Linked DNA regions of Homo sapiens: all the other regions are linked to region 1. The links are contacts of gene promoters, found by promoter capture Hi-C in blood cells and fetal thymus (Javierre and others, 2016). All regions are on one chromosome and are shown on one strand. The core of a region is centred on a gene start or on the middle of the fragment in contact, and the rest is flanking DNA. Distances in the headings are between cores, read along the strand shown. Region 1 holds the start of DNAAF2 (dynein axonemal assembly factor 2). Region 2 overlaps NEMF (nuclear export mediator factor). Region 3 overlaps NEMF (nuclear export mediator factor). Region 4 overlaps NEMF (nuclear export mediator factor).

Region 1 (4,499 bases), core at 370-2,869:
CGCAGGCTGAGCGCTGGCCGCCCGTGCCCTCCGACTCCTCGCGTGTTTCCACACTGCTATCTCCGCGCGCACTCTCTCTTCCCGCAGAAGAACCCCACGCCAGGCTCCGGGAGGACAAACAAGGGGAGCCTCCGCCACCAGGTGAGTTTTCTCCTCCAGGAGATGGCTCCTCCACGCTGCCCGGCGGTGACCCCGCGTGCCTGCTCAAGTCCTGCTCCCCCGGCTTGGGGACACGCTCCTCTCCAGCTGCGGCCGGCGGAGGCGCCACCTCCGGGTCGCCCAGGGTGGTGACCCCGGAGCCCGCAGCCCCAGCCACGCAGGTATCGTGGCCTCCGTCCTCCGCGCGACTCCTCGCGGGTCCCGCCTCCCCCTCGCGAGCGGAAGCGCAGGCCTGGCCGTCAGTTCCGGACCGGTCCGCGGACTCTTCCGGCGCGGCGGCGGCGACGGCGACAGCGGGCTCCCGGCGCGCGGCCGGCAGCACCACTGGCAGCGTAACCACCAGCTGCCGCCGGGCCTTGTTGAATTGTGCCTTGCCGCGGCCATCGTCCACTGGGTACGGGAGCGAGAGCCGCAGCCGGTAGTCAGGTTTCCTCGAGTCGAGGCACAGCAGCTTTCTCGTTACCTCCAGCGCCGCCTGCTCGGCCGAGCGCAACAGCGGCAGTTCGATGGTGATCACCAGCTCATGGGGCACGGGGCTCGGGGCTGAGTCCCTGGAGCAGCGGTAATCCTGGAGGTCCACGTGGTGGCGCTGCACCACGCTGTAGCGAGGCTCGGTGGGGGCGGGCTGCAAGGCCGCTTCCGGAGGGGAGGGCGCCCGGGGCCCGGGGGCTGCCGGGTACTGGTAAGGGTAGGGGAAGTCCGGGAGAGGACCCTTCGGCTCCCCGTCAGGCCTTGCGGGGATGACCCCGGGCAGGGGCGTGCGCAGCACCGCAGCCTCTGGGGTCCCCTTATACTTGGCCTTCAGGGTCTTGGCATTCCTGCGGTCCAGCTTCACGCCGAACTGCTTCTCGACGGCCTCCAGGGCCGTGGCGTCCAGCATCTGGCGGAAGCCCTCGTGCCGCCGGGCCAGCGCAAGCGCGTCTGGATGGAAGACCACGTCGTAGACCATGTAGCGGCTGCTGCTGCGCCCCGCGTACTCGCGGCCGGGCGCCAGGCTGTAGGGCAGGGACCAGTGGCTGCCAGGAGCTGCGCCCCGGTCGCCACCGGAGCCGGGCCGGCTGCTGGGCGCGCCCACCAACGCGTTGCTGCAGACATTCACAAAGCAGCGCCGCGCCCCGTCCAGGCTGGTGCGCAGCACATGGCCGGGCTCCGGGTGCACGAACCGCACTTCCACCCCGCGCTCACGCTCTAGCGCGGTGATCTCCGCCTCGTAGCGCCGCCGGTTCTCCGGGTCGGTGAGCTCCTCGGCGTACTGGGAGAACATTCGCCGGAACTCCGGGTCCTGGAAGGCGGAGGTGAGCCGCTGGACCTCCTCTCCGCTCAGGTCCAAGTCCTCCAGCGACGAGGAGGCCGCCGCTTTGGCCATACTGTCCTGTGGCTCCTCGCCCTCGGGCCAAAGGCGATCAGTCTGACACTGGGTTGGGGGATCCGCCTCAGAGTTTCTGGGCAGCGTACAGTGACGCGGTGGAGGTCGGTAACGGCTGGAAAATTGAGCCTTGAGCAGCGCGTGCTTGTTGTCATAGTTACACCACTAACATTCGGGAGGAGGGGTAGAGATCATGGTGGAATAGGCCGGGCGCGGTGGCTCAGGCCTGTAATCCCAGCACTTTGGGAAGCCTAGGCGGGCGGATCACGAGGTCAGGAGATCGAGACCATCCTGGCTAACACGGTGAAACCCCGTCTCTACTAAAAATACAAAAAATTAGCCGGGCATGGTGGCGGGTGCCTGTAGTCCCAGCTACTCGGAAGGCTGAGGCAGTAGAATGGGGTGAAACCCAGGAGGCAGAGCTCTTGCGGTGAGCCAAGATCGCGCCACTGCACTCCGGCCTGGGCGACAGAGCAAGTCTCTCAAGGAAATCATGGTGGAATAGTGGAAATGCCAGAAATAGCCCTCTTAGATTCTTCAAACCAACCCACCACCGTACTTTGTTTTGTTTTGTTTTGTTTTTCTTTTTTTGAGACAGAGTCTCGCTCTGTCACCCAGGCTGGAGTGCAGTGGCGCAGTTTCGGCTCACTGCAAGCTCCACCTCCCAGGTTCACGCCACTCTCCTGCCTCAGCCTCCCGAGCAGCTGGGACTACAGGCGCCTGCCACTACGCCCAGCTAATGTTTTGTATTTTTACTAGAGACAGGGTTTCACCGTGTTAGCCAGGATGGTCTCGATCTCCTGACTTCGTGATCCGCCCGCCTCGGCCTCCCAGAGTGCTGGGATTATAGGATTACAGGCATGAGCCACCACACCAGGTCCAAAACCTTTTTTTTTTTTTTTTTTTTTTTGAGGCTGTCTCACTCTGTCACCCAGGCTGGAGTGCAGTGGTGCAGTCTTGGCTCACTGCAACCTCCGCCTCCCGGGTTCAGGCAATTCTCCCTGCCTCAGCCTCCCAGGTAGCTGGGATTACAGTGACTCACCACCACGTCCGGCTAAGTTTTGTATTTTTAGTAGGGATGGGATTTCACCATGTTGGCCAGGCTGGTCTCCCACTCTTGACCTCATGTGATCTGCCCACCTCAGCCTCCCAAAGTGCTGGGATTACAGGCATGAGCCACCGCGCCCGGCCTAAAACCTTTCTAATGTGCATATTTTTTTGACCCAAATGCCCTTAGAGTATTTGACACAATACTCTTAGAACATTCTCAAGGTGACATCATTTATGATTCTAAAGGTTTGAGAAGAATCTACAAATTCAACAATGGAACTGATTGAGCAGGTTTTGGTAGAGCCACGCAACAGAGTTTTGTGCAACCATTCAAAATGATCATATGGAAGTATATTTATTTACTGGAGTAATTATTTATTCATTGGTAATTGGTCAATTCAGTGATCATTTTTCTATTCTCAGCAACATTTAACACAGTTGATGTTGGCATTACCTCAGTGACAAGACACTTTCCAGATTTCTCTTCTGTCTCATCACTCTCATAGTTTTGCTCTGTAGGTATCTACTTCTTTTCAACTTCTACATGGAAATGCCCCAAAACTGGGACCCAATCTCTTACCCATCTATACTCTCCTTCAGAAATATATTTACACTCACAAATACTTGTCTTAGACTCAGATTTTACACTCCTATATCCAGCTGCACGTTTGAGGTGTCCATTTGAGTGATTAATGCATAAGCTACTCAGGCTTGAAATGACCAAGATCAGAACTCCTGAATCCTCTTTTCCCAAACCACTGCCTTATCTTATGGTCTCTTGGAAGCATTCAAAGCAGTTGACTGCCCCTTCGAAACACATTTTTCTCATGTTTTGCAGAACTCCAAGCTCTCCCATTTTCCTCCTTTATGCTCCTGCCAGTTCTGCAAATGTGGGAGTTGCCCAAGGCTTTGTTCATCAGCCCTCTTACCTAATCACATTTCTTCCAAGATGTCTTATCCAAGCCCATAGTTTTAAATGCCATCTGTGTTCAAATTAGTCCTTTCAACAGATATTTATTGTGTGCTTATTGCACTTATTATATAGGTAATTAACAAAGATGTGAAGCAGTTGCATTGCTTTTTTTTTTGAGACAGAGTCTTGCTCTGTCGCCTAGACTGGGGTGCTTTGGCGCGATCTTGGCTCACTGCAACCTCCGCCTCCTGGGTTCAAACAATTCTCCTGCCTCAGCCTCCCAAGTAGCTGGGATTGCAGGCACCTACCACTGCGCCCAGCTAATTTTTGTATTTTTTAGTAGAGATGGGATTTCACCATGTTGGTCAGGCTGGTCTCCAACTCCTGAGCTCAGGTGATCCGCCCACCTCGGCTTCCCAAAGTGCTGGGATTACAGGCACAAGCCACCATGCCCAGCCAGCAATTGCACTTTCATATCCTGGGAGTATATATTGGAACACTGTTAACATAAGGCTTACGACAATGAAATTCTCCCAGATACACATTCAACAGAAACACATATCCCCACCAAAACACATGTACTACAATGTGTGTATTCATAGCGGCACTATTTCATAGTTGACAAATTCTGGAAGCAACCCAAATTCTCATTCATAGTAGAATGGATAAATGTAAATATCCACCCACACAATGCACTACTCAACAGTATAGATGAGTATCATTAACATAATGGTGCTTGAAAGAAACCAGATGTAAAATAATACATATGACTCTGTCATATAATAGACAAAACATGGCAAAATAAATCTGTTAAGCCAAGCTAGTGATGGCCATGTTGGGAGAGCTTCTGGGTGAGGGTCTGTTAATCTTGGTTACATTGGGTGTGCAATTTGTGAAATTCATTGTGCTGTACGCTGACAGTAGATTTTATGTATCTTATACTTTTAGAGTTAAAAAATGTACTTTTTTTTTTTTGAGACAGAGTCTCCCTTTGTTATCTAGGCTGCAGTG
Region 2 (4,665 bases), core at 609-3,108, 190 kb after region 1:
TTTTTGCCAGGAACATTATGTTGAAAAGAGAGTTCTTAAAATTAAAAACATGATAGGAAGTAATAAAATATTCAGTGGAAAGATTTGGTGGAAGATAAAGCTGAGGAAACTCCCAGGATGTAGAGCAAAACGATAGACTTGAAAATAGAAAATACAACAAAATTGGAGGACTGGTCTAGGGGGTTCCATATCTTAAAAACAAGATTTCCAGAAGGAAAAGAAAAAAGAAAGCAGAGGTCAGGCAGTTTTTCAAGAACTATTTCCAGAAAATGTCTCAGAACTGAAAGTTTCTGAATTAAAACAGCCCACAAAGTATCCAACATAATGGATTAAAACATCACCACCAACCCCAATTGTAAAATTTTGAAAAATTTGGAGAAAAAATTGGGAGGGGAGAAATATCTACAAGCTTGTAGAGAGGCAAAAACAAGTTTCATGTAAAATATCAACTATCAGCCAGGTGTGATGGCTCAAGCCTGTAATCCCAGCATTTTGGGAGGCTGAGGCGGGCAGATCACTTGAGGCCAAGAGTTAAGAGACCAGCATGGGCAACATGGCAGAAACCCTTCTCTACTAAACACACAAAAATTAGTTGGGCATGGTGGCGTGCACCTGTAATCCCAGCTACTCGGGAGGCTGAGACAGGAGAATCACTTGAACCCAGGAAGCGGAGGTTGCAGTGAGCCAAGATCATGCCACTGCACTCCAGCCTGGGCAACAAAGTGAGACTCTGTCTCAAAAAAAATAAAATAAATAAAATATCAACTATCAAAATAATACCAGATTTCTCAAGTTACTATAATGAAGCAATACCTTTAAAAGTCTGAGGAGGCGGGGCGTGGTGGCTCACGCCTGTAATCCCAACACTTTGGGAGGCTGAGGCGGGTGGAACACGAGGTCAGGAGTTTGAGACCAGGGTGGCAAGTAAGGTGAAACCCCATCTCTACTAAAAATACAAAAATTAGCCAGGCGTGGTGGTGGGTGCCTGTAATCCCAGCTACTCCAGAGGCTGAGGCATGAGAATCGCTTCAAACTGGAAGGCAGAGGTTACAGTGAGCCAAAGACTGCGCCACTGCACTCCAGCCTGGGCAATAAAAGTGAAATTCCGTCTCAAAAAAAAAAAAAAAAAGTCTGAGGAAAATATATTTTCATAGAATTCTATACTCAATTTTTTTTTTTAAGAGACGGGGTTTGGCATGTTGCACAGGCTAGTCTCGAACTCCAGAGGTCAAGAGGTCCACCCACCTCACCCTCCCAGAGTGCTGAGATTACAGGAATGGGCCACCATGCCCAGCCCACTCAAACTATAAGAGTAAAATGTTTTATACATTGGAGACCTCAAAAACTCTGCTTTCTATACACCCTTTCTTGTGAAGCTTCTGGAACACACACTCTTTCAACCAAGAAAGAAGTATGAGATCCAGAAAAGAGTTTCCAAAACAGAGAAGGATAAAGATAACAATAAAAAGAAAAGTGTACGATGCTTAGAGAGAACCAATATAAAATTAAGTAAGTCAAAAAGCTCCAGGAGAGACTTCTGACCTCTGCAAGATGATACTGATTGAATTCCAATGTGTCTGAACACACTTGGAAGATATTATTTAGATAAATTAGTGATAAGAACAAAAATAAAAAGCAAATGAAATGACAATTAATAACTCCAGGGAAGATTTTTAAAACTGAGCAAGGAAGGAAAAAGAAAACAGAATTCTATGTGGGTCAGCTATGACATATAAATTATATGACTACAATTTAAATATTTATAATGATGCCAATGCTATTAATCTTGACAAAATTATGCTGTAACTGTGTGTGTATGTAATGGAACACAAGTGGAAAGAGGGAAATCCTCATCTTTCCCAGTGGGAAGTTAGTAAGAATATAAAACAGAAAAATTAAGAAGTAGCAATATAAACATATTACTAAGATAAATAAAGGCAAATATCAAAAGAATCAACTAAAAGAGCTAAAAGTGGTTTCCTTCGGAGAGCAGGCAATAGGAGTAAAGGTGAGGAACTGGAGAACTAGCTGAGTGCAGAAGCGTATGCCTGTAATCCAGCACTGAGGCTGAGGCAGGAGGATCTCTTGAGCCTAGAAGTTTGAGACCAGCCTGGGCAACAAAGTGAGACCCTGCCTCTACAAAAAATTAAAAAATTAGCTGGGCACAGTGGCATGTGCCTGTAGTCTCAGCTACTTGGGAGGCTGAGGTGGGAGAACTGTCAGAGCCCAGGAGGTCAATGCTACAGTGAGCCATGTTCATGCCACTGTATTCCACCCTGGGTGACAGAGAACCTGTCTCAAACAAACCAACAAAAAATTGCAGAGCTACTGGTTTTGTAACAAGCTTTGTAGAACTGTTTGACTTTTCTAAACAATGTGCATGGATAATTTTAATAAAAACAAAAACTGTATTTGAAAGAGACAGAACACTTACCAATATACTTTTCTTGCTTTTTGAATAGAGGTAACAGTCTGAACTTCTTTTAATGTTTGCTTTGTTTTCTTTTCTGCTGACTTGAATGCCTATTTATAGAAAAGAGTTTTAAAAACAATTTGTTAAGAATGTATTTAAATAACACCAAAGTAAATAATGGGGCAAGAATTTTTTTAAATGTCACAAAATGGCACAATCTACACACACACACACAAACACACACACACACAAATACGCATACTTGAAAGTAATGAAGAAATGAAAATATTTTTGCCTGAAGTATTAAAATAATCTAAACTAAAGAATTACTACATGAAAATATTTGCCCAAGACCTACAAAGTAATAAATACCTTGTCATTTTCTAGATACTGAGTACCTATCATATGCTTGGTTCTAGGCTAGATGCCATTAGAGATATAAGAGTGAACAAGATGGACAAAGCCCCCACTCCCACCCCACTAGGTCTAGAAGAGACAACTATTAATCATATAATCCTTTAAATAAATATATAATGGTGAGTGCTTCTAAAGATGCTACAGGAATATAACAAGGAAACCCGATTTACACTGGGTTATGGTCAAAGAAGGTATCTCTGAGGAAATGACATTTAAGCTGAATCCTCAACGACTAACGGGGTTATCAGGCAAAGAATAGGAAAAAGGGCATTACAAGCAAAAAAAAAAAAAAAAAAAAGACCAGCAAGTACAGCAAGTAGTAATCAAGGGCATAATGTCAAGAAATGAGGTTGAAGCAATAGACAGAGGGCCAAGTCATGAAGGCCACTCATTTAACAGCTATTAAAGTGCCTACTCTGTGCCAGGCAATATTCCAGGGATTGGGATGCAGCAATGAACAACACAAAGATTCTACTTTCATGCAATCTATATTCTAGAGGGAATCCAGAAAAAATATTCAAATAAACATATGTTGGGCTGGGGGGAGTGTTTTTCAAGAAGAAAATAAGGCAAAATAAAGAGAGATTCAGGGTGGTACTATCGTTAGTAATGAGCGGTCAAGGAAGGATTCTCTGATTAAATCTCATTTAAGTGGATATGTAAATGAAGAGAGGGGTCAAACTGAAAATTCCAGGTAGAGAGAACAGCAAGGGCAAAGACCCTGAGAGGGGAGCACGTGTCATTATTTTATGAACAGCTAAGATCCCAGTGTAGCCAGAAAGAGTGTATGAGAGGAGGAATGCAGGTGTTGAGGTCAGAGGGGAGGAGATCTCCCGTCCTTCTTGCAGGATAGGAGAAGGGCTCTGAATTGTATTAAGATGGGAAGCAACTGGAAGAGAAAAAGGACTTCACTTTTGATTTATTTATTTTAATATATTTTTTGAGACGGAGTCTCGCTCTGTCTCCCAGGCTAGAGTGCAATGGCATGATCTCAGCTCACTGCAACCTCCACCTCCCGGGTTCATTAGATTCTCCCACCTCAGCCGCCCAAGTAGCTGGGATTACAGGTACCCGCCATCACCTCAGGCTAATTTTTGTATTTTCAGTAGATATGGGGTTTCACCATGTTGGCCAGGCTGGTCTCAAACTCCTGGCTTCAAGCGATCCACCGGCCTCGGCCTTCCAAAGTGCTGGAATTACAGGCGTCAACCACCACACCCAGTCTTCACTTTTGATTCAAAAGGATCACAACGGGGCTAGGCATGGTGGCTCACACCTGTAATCCCAGCACTTTGGGAGGCCGAAGGTCAAGGCCTGAAGCGGGCGGATCACCTGAGGTCAGCAGTTTGAGACCAAGCTGACCAACATGGTGAAACCCTGTCTCTACTAAAACTACAAAAATTAGCTGGGTGTGGTGGCGGGCGCCTGTAATCCCAGCTACTTAGGAGGCTGAGGTGGGAGAATCGCTTGAACCTGGGAGGCAGAAGTTGCAGTGAGCTGAGATCAAGCCATTGCACTCCAGCCTGAGCAATAAGAGTGAAACTCCATCGCAAAAAAAAAAAAGGGTCACAATGGCTGCTATGTGGAGAACAGACTGTAGTGGGAAAAGAGGAGGAGGAGAGAGATCCAATAAGAGGCTACTTGTCATAGTCCATGTGAACACAGAGGTGATAGGGGACTGATCAGTGGAAATAATGAGTAGTAGCCAGATTCTGGCTGTACTTTAAAGAAAGAACCAAAGGATTTACTGATGGATTGCATGATTTATGGGAAAAGAGTCCAGGATATCACAAACATTTTTAACCTGAGTGAACAGAAAAATGAAGGTGTTATTT
Region 3 (4,940 bases), core at 2,043-4,542, 150 kb after region 1:
AGGAGAACTTTACCTTTACGCTGCGGAATAAGTCTTTTTCTCTTGCTGTTGCTTCTTTGGAATGCATGAAACTATTCAAGGCTGTTTTTGCAGCTGTAAATACAAAAAAGAGTAAGAATAATCTACTGTTAAGTCACTGAACTGTTTAAAATCATAATTCAAAAAAACAAATTTAAATACCTTTTCCCTTTTTCTGCACTCCAGGAGTAAGTTTCACTTTATATCTTTAAAAAGGAATTACATGTGTTACTAAATAGACGTTACAAAACAATTCACAAAAGCCATTCTGTCAACTAATGGTAACTTACTTGTAGTTTGTCATGGTGGTGTAAGGGGCACATATTGGAATGGCAAACAGTAGTACATCTTCAGGATGTGGCTGGCCTGTCAAAGAATCAAATAGGTTTTCCTAAAAAGGGAAAATAACAGTTACAAAGGCAATTTATACCGCCCTTTACAAAAAATGCTAAAACACTTGAATTAGTATCTCAACATATTTTTTATCTTTTCCTGATATACATACCATCTAAGCTGGAACAGTGGTACTTAAACTCTGCTTCATAGTTCCAAAGAGTTGAAGACCAATGTTTAAATATATTCTTTACTACTTAATTTTTGCCTAGCATAATAAGTAATGAGAACAATAATTTTCAAAATCCTACCTACAGTTACATTTAAGAGAAAGAAGGCCCAGGAGCAGTGGTTCACGCCTATAATCCTAGGACTCTGGAAGGCTCAGGCTGAGGCGGGTGGATCGCTTGAGCCCAGGAGTTCAAGACCAGCCTAAGCAACATGGAGAAACACCATCTCTACAAAAAATATAAAAGTTAGCTGGGTATAGTGGGTGCCTGTAGTCCCAGCTACTCGGAAGACTGAGGGGGGGAGGATCACCTGAGCCCAGGAGGTAGACGTTGTGGAGAGCCATGATCCTGTCACTGCACTGGGTGACACCAGCCTGGGTGACAGAGACCCTGTCTCAAAAAAAAAAAAAAAAGGAAAAAAACTATTGGATATTACCTGAGTTGCAGAAACCTGCTGTGGATTAAAATGATGCAATAATAACCACAAATAGATTTAAGTCCTATCACATGGAAATGGGACTAATACCTTGGCTATACCACTATTTCTCGTCCTGGGGAGATTCTGCCCTCAGAAGACAATGGGCAATGTCTAGAGATAGTTTTCGTTGACACGATGAGGGGTGAGAAGGAATAGGTAGGGGCTGCTACTGGGATCTAGTGGGTAAAGGCCGAGGATGTCGCTAAACATTTTATAATGAATGGGACAGACCCCACAACAAAGAATTAACCAACCCCTAATGTTAATAGTGCCAAAGTTGAGAAACCCTGGGCTAGAACAGCCTTCTCTCTTACCCATTATTAAGGAGAAATCCCAGAGTTCTTATTTGCTGTGCTGCCTGTGAGATTGCCCCCATTTATTTTACAATATGAATAAACTTAGATTTAGGACAGAATGCTTGGTGCTGAAGTATAATTAATATTTGAGTGTTTGCTATGTGCCATAAACTTTTCTAAATGCCCTTTACATACATTAGTTATCAAAACAACCCTCTCCTGGGTAGGGACATTATCCCCATTCTTCAGATGAGGAAACTGAGGCACAAAGAATGTTTCCAAGTTTGTACAGTTACATATAGCAGAGTTGGGATTAAGACCCCGAAAGTTTGACTTCGTAGCCTGCAGTCTTGTCTTAGGTTTCTAAGTTTTAATAAGTTGTGTTTCAAACATTCTGGGAACTGAATTGTAATCACAGTGTTGTAGTAGGAACCCCAACATAAAATCATACCTCATTTCCCTGTTGATCCAGATCTTGCTCTTCCTGTTCCGAACATATAAAAATAAAAATGTCAGCTATAATGTAAAATGAAAATTCCACATCATTAAACCATAAGGAGAAAGAAACAGTGATACAACCAGACTGTCATTTCTGACCCACAGGATAGGGGGCCTCAAGGTTATATTCTTCCTAAGACTCTGAAGTGGATTCGTATATGTGTTTGTGTGTGTCTGTTTTATTACTTAAGAAAGTAATGTCATTCAAGAGAAGAAGGGTAGTTCTCTGAAGTAGAGGAGGTGGGAACTGAAACTTTCATATAAAGTATATGTTAAAGCAGCAAAAGTTACAAGTACAATTTAAAATGACAACTAAGGTTGATAAGTTTGCCAGGAGAAAAGCAAATGGAGAATTTTGGTCAACAGAACTTTTATTTTTAAATATCTGTTCAACAGTTTTGGATAAATTTTTCCCATATCCCATAAAATATGCTTAATTTTGTTTGCTTAAGAAAAATCTATCTGGAGATAACTGACTGTCTCAGTCTGTTCAGGCTGCTGTAACAAAATACCTTAGCCTGTATAATTTAGAAACAACAGAAATTTTACTTCTTACAGTTCTGAAGGCTGGGAAGTCCAGCATCAAGGCACCAGCAGATTCAATGTCTGATAAGGGCTTGCCTCAAAGATGGTACCTTAGGCTGGGTGTGGTGGCTCATACCTGTAATCCCAGCACTTTGGGAGGCCAAGGTCGGGGGATCCCTTGAGCCCAGGAGTTCGACACCAGCCTGGGCAACACAGGGAGACCTCATCTTAAAAAAAGATGGCACCTTATTGCAGTGTCCTCACGTGGCAAAAGGGCACTCATCTCATTCATGACAGAAGAGCCCTCGTGACTTCACTTCCTAAAGGCCCAACCTCTTAATACCATCACACTGGGTATTTAGGTTCCCATATATGAATTGTGGGGGGATATTAACATTTAGACCATAGCACCTACTCATGAAAGAACATTAATAATTAACACCTCTAGTGAGTATTTGTGAGTCTAGGATTTACAGAACATAAGGATATTGTACAAATTTTAAAAGCCAAAACGAGTTTTAGTATTACTAAACAACAACTGTTCAGCAGGAAAAAAAAGAAAATAGTAATACAGAATCCCTGTAAGCATTACCTGCACTAAACTGAGCACACAATTATAACTCAAGCTTTACATAAAAAAAATGCTGGTGACAAAGGTAAAAATTTTTTATCTGGCCTCTATTTTAAGCCGTTATTAAAAAATAAACAGGCTGGGCATGTGTCTTACGCCTGTAATCCCAACACTTTGGGAGGCCAAGGCAGGCGGATCACCTGAGATCAGGAGTTCAAGACCAGCCTGGCCAACATGGTGAAACCCCATCACCACTAAAAATACAAAAATAAGCCAGGCGTGATGGTGCATGCTTGTAATCCCAGCTACTCAGAAGGCTGAGGCCGGATAATTGCTTGAATCCGGGAGGTGGAGGTTGCAGTGAGCTGAGATTGTGCCACTGCACTCCAGCCTGGGCAACAGAGCAAGACTGCCTCAAAAAAAAAAAAAAAAAAAATTCAAGAAGAGGTACATATTCATGTAAGAAGATATACAGAAGGCTGGGCTTGCTGTACTGTTAATAAAACAATTAGGCAATCATCTTAGCTGGAAAAATACGAACTCACTGGTTTTGTAACCAGAGTACTTGGCTCTTAAATGGTGTACTCATTTTCAACATTATGTACGACCATATGGCATAGATTCCTATAGAAAAGCTTAGAGAAAGTGAAAATTTATTTTCTACACATCTTCAAGACAATCCCAATTTTCTCTCTCTCTTTTTTTTTTTTTTTTTGAGATGGAGTCTCGCTCTGTCGCCCAGGCTGGAGTGCAGTGGCACAATCTCGGCTCACTGCAAGCTCTGCCTCCCAGGTTCACGCTATTCTGCCTCAGCCTCCCAAGTAGCTGAGACTACAGGCGCTCACCACCACACCCGGCTAATTTTTTTGTATTTTTTTAGTAGAGACAGGGTTTCACCACGTTAGCCAGCATGGTCTCAATCTCCTGACCTTGTGATCTGCCTGCCTTGGCCTCTCAAAGTGCTGGGATTACAGGCGTGAGCCACCGTGCCAGGCCTCTCTGTCTTAATTTAATTCAGTTCCCATCAGAATCAAAGCCTCTCCTTAAAACTGATTACTTCCTAAAGGCTTGTAACAAAATTGTTATCAGCTATCAGTACTACCATTATCATGCTTAGATAAGATACTGCAATTTTAGTCTTTCAGGTTGTATTTCTGGATGACATTCCATTAAGAATAGGGTTACTCACTTGTCTTGGTTTTAGCACTGAAAGTCCCATGTCCTGGGAACTCCAGGATGGGTAATCACCCTAATTAAGAAGCAGAAGCCCACAAAGTAGCCATACCTTGTCATCATGTGGATCATCTACAGCAAAGTCTTGTAACTCATGAGTTATAACCTCAAGGAACGGAGTTTCTTTCTTAATGTTGTCAGAGACCCTCTGTCCACCTCTAGGTTTCTGGGGCTGTTTCTTCACAGGTTCGTCCTTTGTTTTTCCTTTCTTCCCCTTCTTCCCTTTTTCTTCTTTGTTTGAACCTGCAGACTTTAATTCATAGAGGAAACATCAGTCAGTGTTGTATTTTCAATACTGTGAATATTTTAACAAGAATGTATTGAATGCCTGTCATACGCTAGGCAGTGGGCTAGATGCCCATTTGAAAAGCAAAAGAAAAAATGTTTTTAGATGTTATTTACCCCCAGCAACTTCATGATAAGTTCACGGTCTTCTTCATCCTGGTCTTTGTATTTTTCTTTCATTTTTTTCATTTTACTCTACAAAATCAGAAGATTTTGGTTGGAAATATTCAGCAGCAAAAAAATGTCAACAAATACTTGCAAAGAAATGGTGTTACTTTATATTCTCTGTCAAAAATGCTTACTGAATAAGGCACCATTATAATAAACAATATGAAGGCTACAAAGTTGGATAACTGAAGTCCTCATCTTCAAGGAATTTACCATAGGGTGGAGAGAAGATACACAGAGAAGTAAGAATACATTAACAAAACATAAAGAACTGTGAGGAAGAAATAAAGTAAAACAGTATTGGA
Region 4 (4,426 bases), core at 482-2,981, 170 kb after region 1:
ATAATTCACATGCCATAAAATTCACCCCTTTAAAGTATACAATTCAGTGGCTTTTTGTATATTCATAATGCTGTGTGACCATGACCATCAATACTATTTAATTCCAGAATATTTTCATCATCCCAGAAAAGAAACCCTATATTCATTAGCAGCCACTCCCCATTTTCTCCTCTGTACCCAGCCCCTGGCAATTACTAATCTATTTTCTGTCTCTATGGTTTTGCCTATTTTGGACATTTCATACAAATGTAATCATACACAGCATTTTAGGTTTGGCTTCTTTCACTTAGCTTAATGTTTTTCAAGATTCATCCATGTTAAAAGCACATATAAGTACTTCTGTTCTTTGCAAGTCTGAATAATATTCCATTATATGGATATATCACATTTTGTTTATTCATTAATTGAATGACATATGGATTGTTTCCATTTCTTGGCTATTATAAATAATGCTGCTATCAATATCTGCAAACAAGTTTTGTGTAGACACATACCTTTGCTCATCTTGGGTATATACCTAAGAGAGGAATTGCTGGGTCAATTATGTTTAACATTTTTTGGAACTGCCAAACCACTTCCCACAGCAGCTGTATCATTGTCCATTCCTACCAGCAGTATTCTATGTTCTCCACCATCATCACCAACACGTGTTATTGTTTTCTCCAGCATCATCACCAGCACATGTTAGTGGGTATAAAGTGGTATCTTGTGATTTTTTTTTTTTTTTTTTTTTGAGACGGAGTCTCTCTCTTTTCACCCCGGCTGGAGTGCAGTGGCGTGATCTCGGCTCACTGCAACCTCCACCACCTGGGAAGTGATTCTCCTGCCTCAGCCTCCTGAGTAGCTGGGATTACAGGCATGCACCACTACGCCCGGCTAATTTTTATATATATATATTTTTTTACTAGGGATGGGGTTTCACTATACTGGCCAGGCTGGTCTCAAACTCCTGACCTCAAGTGATTTACCTGCCTCTGCCTCCCAAAGTGCTGGGATTACATGCATGAGCCACAGCGCCTGACTGGTATCTTGTGATTTTGATTTAAATTTTCCTAATAACTGATGATACTGAGAATCGTTTCATGTGATTGTTGGCCATTCACGTATCTTTGCAGAAATATCCATTCAAATCTCTTGCTCATTTTTCAGCTGGGTTACTTCCCTTTCTATTGTTGAAACTTAGGAATTCTTTGGACACTAGACTCATCAGATATATGATTTGCAAATATTTTCTCTTATTCTGTGGGTTGTCTTTTTACTTTCTTGATAATGTTCCTTGGATTAAGGTTTTATTTATTTATTTTATTTTTTGAGACAGAATTTCGCTCATTGCCCAGGCTGGAGTGCAATGATGCCATCTCAGCTCACTGCAACCTTCGCCTCCAGGGTCCAAGCGATTCTCCTGACTCAGCCTCCCAAGTAGCTTGGATTACAGGCACCCGCCATCATACCAGGCTAATTTTTCATATTTTTTAGTTGATACAGGGTTTCACCATGTTGGCCAGGCTGGTCTCGAACTCTTGACCTCAGGTGATCCACCTGCCTCGGCCTCCCAAAGTGTTGGGATTACAGGCATGAGCCACCGTGCCGGGCTGAATTAAGGTTTTTAATTTTATGTCTAACTTACCTGTTTTTTGTTTGATTACTTATGATTTTGGTATCATATCTAAGAAATTACTGCATGATACAAGATCATAAAAATTTATGCCTTGTTTTCTTCTAGCAGCTTTATACTTCTGGCTTTTAAGTTTAGGTCTTGGATGCATTTTAAGTTAATTTTTATAAATGGTGTGATTAAGAGGTCTAACCTCAATCTTTTGCATGTGGATATCTAGTAGTGCCATACTACCGTTAAAAAGTTAAGCCACTGACTGGCAGAAAATACTTGCAAAAGACATAGCAGATAAAAGATTGTTATCTAAAATATAAAAAAACTCTTAGAACTCAACAGTAAAAACACAAACAGCCCAATTAACAAATGGGCCAAAGACTTTTAACAGATACTGCATCGAAGATATACATATGAATATCTAATAAGCATATGAAAAGATGCTCTGCATCATATGTCACCAAGGAAATGCAAATTACAACAACATTGAAATACACTATGCATCAATGATAATGGCCAAAATCCAAAACACTGACAACACTAAATTCTGGTGGCAGTGGAACAACAGGAACTCCCATTGCTGGTGGTGATGTAAAAGGGTACAGCCACTTTAGAATAGACAGTCTGGTGGTTTCTTACAAAACTAAAAATACTCTTACCATGTGATTCAACAATATTGATGTTTGGTATTTACCAAAATGAACTGAAAACTTATATCTGTACAAAAACCTGCACAGATGTTTATAGTAGCTTTATTCATATTGCCAAAACATGGGGGCAACCAAATTCAGTAGATTAATGGATAAACTGTGGTTCATCCAGACAACTGAATATTATTCAGGGATAAAAAGAAATGAGCTATCAAGCCATGAAGAGACATGGAGGAAAGGTAAAAGCATACTACTAAGTGAAGAAGCCAGCCTTTAAAGATCAGTGGTTGTCGGGGGTTGGGGGAAGGGAGGGATGAACAGGCAGGGCACAGAGGACTTTTTTAGCACAACCAAACTAAATCTGTATGATAATACAATGGCAGATACATGTTTTACACATTTGTCCAAACTCAAAGACTATATACATCAAGAGTGAACCCTGGCTGGGCTTGGTGACTCATGCCTGTAATCCCAGCACTTTGGGAGGCTGAGGTGGGCAGAACACTTGTCAGGAGTTCGAGACCAGCCTGGCCAACATAGTAAAACCCTGTTTCTTCTAAAAATACAAAAACTAGCTGGGTGTGGTGGCACGTGCCTGTTAATTCCAGCTACTCTGGAGGCTGAGGCAGGAGAATCGCTTGAACCTGGGAGGCAGACGTTGCAGTAAGCTGAGATTACGCAACTGCACTCCAGGCTGGGCAACAGAGCGAGACTCTGTCTCAAAAAAAGAGAGTGAACTCTAATGCAAACTATGGACTCTGGGCCATAATGATGTGTCAATGTAGGTTCATTAGTTGTAACAAATGTACCGTTCTGGTGGGGGATATCGATAATAGGGGAGGCTACGCATGCATGCAGCAGGGGGTATGAGGGAAATCACTATACATTCTGCTCAATTTTGTTGTGAACCTAAAACTGGTCGAAAAAAATGTCTATTTAAAAAAAGAGGCCGGGTGCGGTGGCTCGTGCCTGTAATCCCAGCACTTTGGGAGGCTGAGGCGGGCGGATCACAAGGTCAAGAGATCAAGACCATCCTGGCTAACACGGTGAAAACTCGTCTCTACTAAAAATACAAAAAATTAGCCGGGCGTGGTGGAGGGCGCCTGTAGTCCCAGCTACTCGGGAGGCTGAGGCAGGAGAATGGTGTGAACCCAGGAGGCAGAGCTTGCATGAGCCGAGATCACACCACTGCACTCCAGCCTGGGTGACAGTGCAAGACTCCATCTCAAAAAACCAAAAACAAAAAATTAAAAAAAGAAAAAAAGAAAGAGGAAATTCTATCCCCATTGGTCTTGGCACCCCTGCTGAAAATTAACTGACCATAAACTACAGGTTTATTTCTGGAATCTCGATTCTATCCCTTGATCTATTTGTCCATCCTCATGCCAGTACCAGTGTCCTGATTACTGTTACTCTGTAGAAAGCTTTAAAATCAGGAAACATGAGTCCTTCAAAATTTGCTCTTCATTTTCAATACTGCTTTCGCTAATCTGAGTCTCCTTGCATTACCACATGAATTTTAGAATCAGCTTCTCCATCTCTGAAAAAATAAAATAAAATAAAATGCAGGGCCAGGGGCAGTGGCTCATGCCTGTAATCCCAGTACTTTAGGAGGTCAAAGTGGATGGACTGCTCGAGCTCAGGAGCTCGACACTAGTCTGGACAACATGGCAAAACCTCATCTCTACAAAAAACACAAAAATAAGTTGGGCACAGTGGCAAATGTCTATGGTCCCAACTACTCAGGAGGTTGAGATGGGAGGATCGCTTCAGCCTGAAAGTTCAAGGCTGCAGTGAGCCAATCGCACCACTTTATTACAGCCTGGGTGACAGGAGACCCTGTTTCAAAACAAAACAAAAAAAGCAGCTGCAATTTTGAGAGGGATTACAGTGAATTCCTAGATTACTGGGGAGTACTGCTATCAGAACAATATTAAGACTTCCAATACATATACATGGGATGTCCAATTTAGGTCTTTAATTCCTTAAAATAATTTTATAGTTTGTTATCTATAAGCGTTGTAAGTCTTTTGGTAAATTGATTCCTAAGTATTTTATTCTTTTTAATGCTAATTATAAATTGAATTGTTTTATTAATTTCCTTTTCAGATTGTTCACTGGTAGTGTACAGAAATACAACTGATTTTTGTTTACTGATCTCATATCC

The links. The method cuts DNA at HindIII sites, captures the fragments that hold promoters and counts their contacts. A CHiCAGO score of 5 or more calls a contact.
Region 2: a contact is called between a fragment that was not itself captured here and the fragment with the promoter of DNAAF2 in region 1, in 7 of 17 cell types (erythroblasts, megakaryocytes, total CD8 T cells and 4 more). The highest score is 11.4, in erythroblasts.
Region 3: a fragment that was not itself captured here is called in contact with the fragment with the promoter of DNAAF2 in region 1 in 4 of 17 cell types (erythroblasts, megakaryocytes, total CD8 T cells and 1 more); the score reaches 8.6 in erythroblasts.
Region 4: a fragment that was not itself captured here is called in contact with the fragment with the promoter of DNAAF2 in region 1 in 3 of 17 cell types (erythroblasts, naive CD4 T cells and megakaryocytes); the score reaches 6.1 in erythroblasts.

The regions. Positions count from the first base shown.
Region 1 is chr14:49,633,625-49,638,123 of GRCh38, forward strand. DNAAF2 (dynein axonemal assembly factor 2) reads right to left here and starts at 1,620. Exons shown (of 3, transcript NM_018139.3): 1 at 1-1,620. The coding sequence starts at 1,525. RefSeq lists silencers at 182-451, 722-961, 1,192-1,241 and enhancers at 452-691, 504-1,264. The HindIII fragment of the contact is 6,803 bases long and covers 1-4,499 here.
Region 2 is chr14:49,823,433-49,828,097 of GRCh38, forward strand. It overlaps NEMF (nuclear export mediator factor), which reads right to left. Exons shown (of 33, transcript NM_004713.6): 16 at 2,435-2,523. Among named protein-coding and RNA genes, the nearest start is that of NEMF, 27 kb to the right of the region's middle. The HindIII fragment of the contact is 968 bases long and covers 1,375-2,342 here.
Region 3 is chr14:49,784,912-49,789,851 of GRCh38, forward strand. NEMF (nuclear export mediator factor) reads right to left here. Exons shown (of 33, transcript NM_004713.6): 27 at 4,585-4,662; 28 at 4,235-4,432; 29 at 1,807-1,839; 30 at 309-409; 31 at 181-224; 32 at 14-93. KLHDC2 (kelch domain containing 2) reads left to right here. Exons shown (of 13, transcript NM_014315.3): 13 at 1-1,474. Among named protein-coding and RNA genes, the nearest start is that of KLHDC2, 19 kb to the left of the region's middle. The HindIII fragment of the contact is 580 bases long and covers 3,003-3,582 here.
Region 4 is chr14:49,806,881-49,811,306 of GRCh38, forward strand. The region is part of intron 18 of NEMF (nuclear export mediator factor); the gene reads right to left. Among named protein-coding and RNA genes, the nearest start is that of KLHDC2, 41 kb to the left of the region's middle. The HindIII fragment of the contact is 3,899 bases long and covers 1-3,681 here.